2 separate regions of the Homo sapiens genome follow, and region 1 is linked to region 2. Evidence: promoter capture Hi-C in 16 types of primary human blood cells and fetal thymus (Javierre and others, 2016). All regions are on one chromosome and are shown on one strand. The core of a region is centred on a gene start or on the middle of the fragment in contact, and the rest is flanking DNA. Distances in the headings are between cores, read along the strand shown.

Evidence for each region. Contacts are between HindIII fragments. The CHiCAGO score rates a contact against its expected background, and 5 or more counts as called.
Region 1: a contact is called between a fragment that was not itself captured here and the fragment with the promoter of CISD2 in region 2, in 1 of 17 cell types (total B cells). The highest score is 5.0, in total B cells.

The regions. Positions count from the first base shown.
Region 1 is chr4:99,887,823-99,892,094 of GRCh38, reverse strand. It overlaps LAMTOR3 (late endosomal/lysosomal adaptor, MAPK and MTOR activator 3), which reads left to right. Exons shown (of 7, transcript NM_021970.4): 3 at 61-95. Among named protein-coding and RNA genes, the nearest start is that of LAMTOR3, 4.5 kb to the left of the region's middle. The HindIII fragment of the contact is 538 bases long and covers 1,411-1,948 here.
Region 2 is chr4:102,867,736-102,872,097 of GRCh38, reverse strand. It overlaps CISD2 (CDGSH iron sulfur domain 2), which reads right to left and starts at 3,106. Exons shown (of 3, transcript NM_001008388.5): 1 at 2,911-3,106. The coding sequence starts at 3,013. It also overlaps a transcript of UBE2D3 not described here. RefSeq lists silencers at 2,846-2,965, 2,996-3,285 and an enhancer at 3,516-3,655. The HindIII fragment of the contact is 11,662 bases long and covers 1-4,264 here.

The DNA of each region.
Region 1 (4,272 bases), core at 430-2,929, 3.0 Mb after region 2:
GATCTAGAAAACAGTGGAAGGCCTATTATTACAACATTATTTTTTAATGCTCTCTTTCAGGACCTAAAGCGATTCTTGTATAAAAAGTTACCAAGGTAAGAAATTTTTAATTTGTTATTGAATAAATTCTATATGCCATATGTTAATTTTATGAAGCATTTTGTCTGTATTTTCCATGTTGTGAAGTATCTCTGAGATTTCCTTTAATATGAATATTTTTTGCCAGCCTCACGTCCTCTGGAAAATTTTCGTCACAACCGCTTTCCTCATTTATGTCAATAAGTTTGCCTTCACTGAGTTCTCTGTGTATCTAGAGCGATAGTGTCAGCATTCCCTTGGTCATCTGTTTCTTCTATAATTCTTTACTTTCTATTTGAAATTCAGCATTTCTATTTGAAATTTCAGCATTATTACTTTTCATTTCTTTGCTGTATTTCGTCTTTGTTGGCCAGTTTCCTCTTTTTATTATCTCTTTTTCTAAATGTCACATACTTTATCATTGGGAGACAAGGAGGTACAAAACTACATGCTTTGCTATCTCTGCATGAGCTGCATAACAGATGCACAGTGACCAACCATCAACATACTTTGAAAGAAATGATGTGGCTGGTTACTGATGACAGTGTGCATCTGTTAATTACATAATTATTTATGTAGTGATTTGTGGACTAAAGAGTTAGAAAAGTTTATACTTTACGTAGTTATTGAGGTATTATGCCATGCTAACTAAAATTTGACCTGTGCTCTTCTGCAGGGAGTGGTATTACTTAACCATAGTAACTAAAATGTGCATATTGGAACTATGCAAAATGAGGGCTTTCTGTGTTTTTCTGTAGTTACCTTAGCGTAATGAAAGGGCGCTCAAATTGGGACGGAGAGATACCCCACTACGCTGGTGATATGATGAAATAGTTAATAGTACATAGTTAATTCACTTAGAAGTCTTAGTGATTTACAGTCCTCTTTTGAGTGTTAGCATCTCTTATTGAAGAAACAGCAAAATTGCATTCAATGTTCTTAAGTTATAAACCGACCAGAAAGATACTCATTAGTCACCTGGAGATCTAATAAAGCAATAATTGATTCTAATTACATCATCTGTGATTATAAGCAATAAAAATGTTTCAGACAATGGGGATCTCATTTTAACTATTAAGTGTGCTCTCAAAATCATAATAGCGTGTGACACTGGATATGATGAAGCTGTCTGTGTAAAGGAATTAGAGAATAATACCAAAAGTATTTATTATATTACTGAGTAGTTCTAATGTTGATCAAAAATAGTTGGAAAGTAAATGCTTGCTTCTTCTTTGAATTTAGATGTCTCTTATCTTTTAACAAAAGGGGAAATATCAGGTTGTTGTGCTTATCCAAGAAATAAATTCAGTTAAAGGATATTTGTTAAAAGCTTTATGAAAATCTTTCATAATGGCAGGAAAGGTATTAGTACTGTCAGTTTTTTTTTTAATAATGAAAAAAAGCCAGTTCAACTCATTATATCATTTATTGAAAATAGGCTTATTGCATCCCAGAACAGTAATAATGAAGAAATAATAATGTTTTGAACATTTATGAAGAATAGTAGAATATACGCTTTGATTTGTTGCTAGATGTATGGGTTTGGATGCAGGCATCCTGCTTCAGAGCCATGGATTCATGCTTTTAACTGTTGTACCTCAGTGCCTCTCAGTAACAAAGTCAGCCAGCTACGGATACTAATGGAATGTGTGTTTTTGTGCGTTTTTTGAATTCTCTGCAAAATATCGTTCTTGTATTTGCAATTTAAAATCTGGTTGTGACCCAAAGCAGTCTCAGGCTTTAATAATCCCACTTTGTATGTTTTAAAACAACCAAATATTTCATAATTATGTGTATAAAACTAAATCCGATGTCTTTGATTAGTAATGCAACATTTGTTTTTAGAAAAAAATGGTTGTTTTAGTAAGCTTAAGGTTTAGATTTCTTCAGAATATTTCACAAAATTTAATTCATTTCTTCTAAAAGTGTAGTATCTCTTAATGAGCCAGTTATTTTTAATTATTAGTAAATTCTATTTATATTACTCTTTGCGCATTGTATGTAGAATTGAAAACAGCTTTTATATTTGTGACCTGATTTCTAAAATTATATACTTAAGAGTGTAAGTAATTTTTCTACTTTCTTGATTCATTTCTCTGTGAAGTCCATCAAAAAGAAAGTCCTTTTATTTTCTTTGGAGCATTAGTTGTATTTAAAGTAATTTCCATGGAAATTTAAAAAAAGAAGCTACCTGTGGTGGCACTAATTTTTCTAAACATTTTTGTGGTCCTCTTTTTACCTGCTTTTTAATTTATTTTGGGGGTAAGTAGTACATTCACAGAGTTCAGATTCAAGACTTAACTGAAGAACATAGAGTGAGAAGCTGCCCATCCTTCCTCTCCAGCCACATGCACAGTTTCCCCTCAAAGAGGCACCCACCATTACCTACAGAGATATTTTATGTACCTATGAGCAGACATGTATATACACGTATTTATACACACAACATACACATATGCCTGCATATTTTGGTACATAATTTATTGCTTCTTCTATACACTGTTCTAAACTGTGTATTTTTTCACTTAAGAATGTAACTTTGAGAGTAATCTTTCCTGGTACATAGAGAACTTCCTCTTTCTCATGGCTGCAGAGTATTCCAGAGTATTCCTTTGTAGGTGTATATCATAACTTACCTTGTCCTTCTTGATGGACAGTTGGATTTGTAATGCTTTACTGTTTCAAATGATGTTGCTTTTGGTAACTGCACAAAATAATTGGCTTATGTACAAATATCTGTAGTATATGTTTTATATAACCTAGTTTTTAACTTAGAAGAATATATTTATTTTATGTATTAATCTTTTTGTTGTTGTTGTTGAGACAGACTCTCGTTCTGTCACCCAGGCTGGGAGTGCAGTGGCGCAATCTTGGCTCACTGCAACCCAGGTTCAATCGATTCTTATGCCTCAGTCTCCCAAGTAGCTGGGATTACAGACAAGCACCACCACACCCAGCTAATTTTTGTGTTTTTGGCTGAGACGGGGTTTCATCATGTTGGCCAGGCTGGTCTCAAACTCCTGACCTCAGGTGATCTGCCCACCTTGGCCTCCCAAATTGCTGGGATTACAGGCGTCAGCCACTGTGCCCGGCCTATGTTATGTATTAATCTTAGAGATATATTTTAATCTATAAATAAGTTTAGGATTGAATGATTAGGAAATCATGCCAATAATAGGATAAAAATAGTATAAAAGTCATTTATAAAGTTATTTTATTCTTATTTTTAATGTAAGGAAGACAAATGATTTTGTTTGTAACATTTTCCATTCATATTTAATAACACTTTTCTGACTTAAAAGTTTTTGACAATGGGATTTTAAAAAATTTAATGTCAGTATTTAAACATTAGGTTAATATAAGTATTTCTTATTCCTTAGTTAATACATTAAAGTTAACACAAAGAATAGATCATTCCGGGTTGCTGTAGGGACATTGAACATATCTCTGAGTTGTAGTTTATAGATACCATAAGATAGTTACAGGACTATAAGATTTATGTTAACAATGAAAGGGTTTTGCATAAATGTTGAAAGTCGAGGAGTGTCACCTTATATTTTTTAACACAGTATATTTGTGCTCTACCATATGTTTCTTAATTGCTAATTTCCCAGGGATTCTCACTGATAACTTAGTACTTTAGTGATAAATTATGTCATTGTCAGTGTGCACAATTGACACCACTGGTATTAGTTAATAAGTGATATTTTTGAATTATGTGCCAGCCTACACTTTACATGCCTTGTATTATTAAATTTCACAGTATCTAAGTAAGTACAGTTATTCCCATTTTCAAATTGTTAATCTGAGGCTTGTAAAGGTTTCATAACTAGCCCAAGATAGCATAAATAATAAGTGGCAGAGCCTGGACTGGAACCCAGATCTTTCTAACTTTAGAGCTATAGCTTGACCGTTCTGCTTACTACTTCTTACGTAAGCATGGCTGAAAGGATTACTGCATAGCCTGCATTCCTTTTGCCCTGTTTCTTCAGCCAGGAACAGTTTTTCCACGTCTTTTCACTTAGTGCCATAACGTCTCAGCTGATGTATTACTGCCTCCAGGAAAGCCTTCTCTGGCCCACTGTCTGTCTGCATCAGCCTCCTCTTTTCTAGGTTCTCATATCCCTATGAACTTTTTAACAACACTTGCCACCAGTTTTAGTTTTACGTTTGTTATTGTGAGATTATTTTATT
Region 2 (4,362 bases), core at 1,857-4,356:
AAAAACAAAACAAAACAAAAACCTAAGTTAAACATAAATTAGATAATCACAGTAATTTATCTTGAACGCCTCACTCTTGAAAATGTGACATAAACAAAGATAGTTAAGTTGTTTCTGATAGGTGAGAACTGCCTGTATTTAACTAGTATATGGTCATTAAAGATCTCCATGTGGTTTCTAAGAATGCAGAGTCATCATAAGAGAGTCAATAGCTTTAAAAAACAGCTAGATTTAAATAGGGAAGGAAATGTAGGCAATAATAATGTGAACTGTATTGTTTTTTGCTCTAATTTTCATAGAAGAAAATGGAAATATTTTTTGGTCTCCTAGACATTTTAAACAATTGCTAAAAAGTTGTCTTCCAGGTTTTTATTTTAACAAAAGTGTACATTATGGATTCTACAAGTAACTCATTTAAGAAAGCCAAATGTCATTAACTGTTACAATCTATTCAGAATGGGAGACCGAGAGTGGAAAATAGCCACTGAAATTTTTCTTCTATAGTACTCCAAAATAAACCCTGCAATTGTTTTGTCCAATCCAAAAAGGGCTATCTCATGTTTTTCATAAACCAGTTATTACAAGCATGTTCATGTTTCCTAAATAAACCAGCAATAAAATGAGAACTATTAACTATAGCCACACTGTAATGGGACTTAAGTTAAATGTATGTTATTAAAATACTTCTCAGAATGGTCATTATTTCTGAGAATCAGTCTTCATATTAAATATTTAACAACTTTTAAGAGGAAGTTACTATATATTCTTAAGAGAGAAAAGGTTTTGGTTGAGTTTTCTTAATGTCTTTAATAGGAATTAAATATTTGTTGACACTAGGGATCCTCAAGAAAAGAAAGCATACTTCTAAAATCTAGCCATTAAATCTAGTTTCATACTTTCTAATTTTCTTCAATTATACTTGATTTACAGAGAATCGAAACTAATACAAATGCAGCCACCATCTGGAAAAAACATAGGTAATTCATTGGACATTTTCCTTTCTTGACTGTTAAAAATTCCTCAACAGTTAACTTATGCAAATTAGTAAGAAGGTACAAATGTCAAAATGACAAAAGGGTACAAAAGTCACAATATGATCATACCGTTTTGGCCTGGTATTGCTATTTAAGTGAAGACATCCAAAAGGGAGAAATATGACAACTGGTATTTGCTTACTTGCCAATGAACTATTACATAATGAATTTTAAAAAATAGAAACATTTCTAATTTCCAGTTGTAAGGGAATGAATGGTTAGGCCCATTGTGATGTTAAAACTAAAATAAGTATTTAGTTGTTAGGGAAAAAATGAGGATTATATTAAAATATGTAAAGTACTTAAGTAAAAGAAGTGGGGAAAGCCAAAATTTTATGGAATTGCTGCAATTCTGTCAGAGTAAACTGGTAGGATCAAAAGATCTGATGTTTATAAACACTTGATGTGAAACGTTTTTCATTTTATTTTACTTTTGCATTGCTTCTGATGTTTAATGTTCCTTTTTAATGTTTATTATTGTTACCATGCTTTCTATTCAATTGCATGTTTTCTACTAAAACTCTTAATATTTAAAAAATATTAAAATCTCACAATCCACTCAACAGAGCGTCTGTCTGACCATAATTCAATGAATCTCTAGATTTGGAAGAGAATTTGTCATCTAGTTTATCCCTTCTAAATCTATCGACCACCCACCACCAGAGTCTTTTTGTTTGTTTTTTTCATCTTTGAGAGGGGCTATCACTGAAGCACCACATTTGTTTGGGGAAAGCATTCTTTAATTTAAAAAAAAATCTTCCTTAGACTGAAATTCACCTCCCAATAACCTTCACTAATTTGGTTAATTTGTTATCAGTTCTATATTTTAGTCTACACAAATCTTATTTTTCTTCTACCAGACAGCTGTGCGATTGCTGTATTTTAGGTCAGGTACTACAGATCTTTAGAACGTTCCCGGCGAAGCAACCCTATTTACCTCAGAATTATCTTAATTCATGTTTGCACTCCCTGATAACCTAGGACATAGGAGTTCAATACTTGCTGATTCCTTCACCATCCTACTCGGTCTGAGTTCCGTTTAGAAATATCCCCCTTACAATGAAATGCTCATAACTCAACACAATCTCCCAAGTGTTGACTGCATTCTGGAGATTTTCATCCTTTAGATGTGAAATCCTCATGAGTTGTGTGGGTTAAGTGAGGGTCCTTAAGTATAGAACGTTACATATATTCACTAAATTTCATTTTCTAAGATTTCACTCCTCATACCGGCCTTCGAATACTTTCTTGGGTAAGGTATCTTTCTTCCAACTTAAGTTACCGCAGCGGGCCCCGGGACCGTAGAAACGGAGATGACCTCAAATGCCACCTATGATAGGTCAATTCTAACCTGAGGGAATGGAGGTTATCTCCTAATTTCGTTACTAAATAAAACGGTCATATACGTGTTACGTGTAAGTCTATATTTCTCTCCCACACACTCCCACCCACATGCTGAGGGTACAACCCAGCCGGTAGCTGGGGCTGCCTGTTACATGAGGCCTTAGATAACGACGACTTAGCCCGCTTTAAAATAAACAAGTACGCTACAGAGAGCGATGAGCAGGACAGGAGATGAAAGAGACTGGCCTGTTCCCAACTCAGCACCTTCTCTGCAAAAACCTGGTATCTTGCCACGGAATGACACCGGAGACAACTCCGAGGACAAAAGACCCTGGGGCATCAAGCACCCGGAGACTGCCTCACAGGCGTTCCCCAGGCAGCTGCGTCGGCGCGCGCCCACCTTCCTCTGCGCGCGGGGATCACGTGCCAGGCGCCGAGCTCCGTCCCGCCCCTTGGCCCTAGGATTTTTACGCCTCCTTCCCCCGCTTGGCGAACGTGCAAGGATGGGGACTGGCTGATGGGGGAGGATTACCTGTGAGCCTAGCGAACCCGGTAATGCTTTCAGGGACTGGGAGCCGCTTCAGATATGCAGGGAGCTGCACCTTCACGATACGGGCCACGCTCTCCAGCACCATCCTGGCCAGCGGCGTCCACTCCTCTCCCGAGCCCCCTCCGCTCTGGCCAAGCTGCCGCGCCTGCGCCGGGAGCGGAAGCGGCCGGCGGGCACTGGCGGCCTCGGCCTGGGCGGCGGGCGGGGCGGCGGGCCCTGGGAGGAGAGGTGACCTGCCGGGCGCCGATTGGCGGCGGGCGAGTGACGTACGCTCGCGGCGGACTGCCGAGGCGCGGGAACTGGCGGGTAGCGAGGCCCTCCTCGGAATCTCGTGTGAAGGTGGCCCTCCTCTTGGGCCTTTAACGTCTGTAGATGCTGGAGACCAGCAGAAAGGATACTGTGTGCGATGAGATAAGCATGTGAGAATGCTTTCTAACCGAAAGTGCCTTTCAAAAGTGAGTCTCTTGCTGTCTCTACTTCGTCCCCTCTCGCCCCGCCTCTTCCCCTACAGTTTGGGTGCTGTGGCCCTAGGGTTGCATACTCGCCCATGAGTATCCTCCCCCTACCCAGACCCCAGTGCCTAATTTTACTCCTTCACCCAAAGGCCAGGCTTAAAAAAATAAAAATTAAAATATTTTAACTAAACCAGGAACTGTTTACATCTCTGCCCCTTGGCAACTTAACTGCAGCCCTAGCTCCAAAAACCTCTGGTTTTTGCCACTCAGAGAAGATTCGTAGTAGTCCTTCCTTAGATATTTTCAGTTCCTTTTCCTTCGGGAAAGTGGTAAAAGAATCCAAAGCTGGCCGGGCGCGGTGGCTCACGTCTGTAATCCCAGCACTTAGGGAGGCCGAGGCGGGTGGATCACGAGGTCAGGAGTTCGAGGCCAGCCAGGTCAAGATGGTGAAACCCCGTCTCTACTAAAAATAGAAAAATTAGCCGGGCGCGGTGGCAGGTGCCTGTCCCAGCTACTCGGGAGACTGAGGCAGGAGAATCGCTTGAACCAGGGAGGCGGAGGTTGCAGTGAGCCGAGAATGTGCCACTGCACTCTAGCCTGGGAGACAGAGCAAGACTCCGTCACAAAAAAAAAAAAAAAAAAGAATCTAAAGCCTTATGTATGGTTTTCTTTATGTTACAAGGCTTCTGCTGAAGTCTAGCGCAGGGGGTCCTTATGGCTTCCCTAGGCCACACTGGAAGAAGAATTGTCTTGGGCCACACATAAATACACTAACACTAATGGTAGCTAATGAGCTAAAAAAAAATTTTTTTTCATAAAGTTTTAAGAAAGTTTACAGATTTGCATTGAGTGGCATTCAAAGCCATCCTGTTGGGCAAGCTTGATCTTGAAGGTTTTAATTTTGTTGTTGTTGTTGTTGTTACAAGGTTTCGCTCTATCGCCCAGGCTGTAGTGCAGTGGTCAGATCATAGCTCACCGC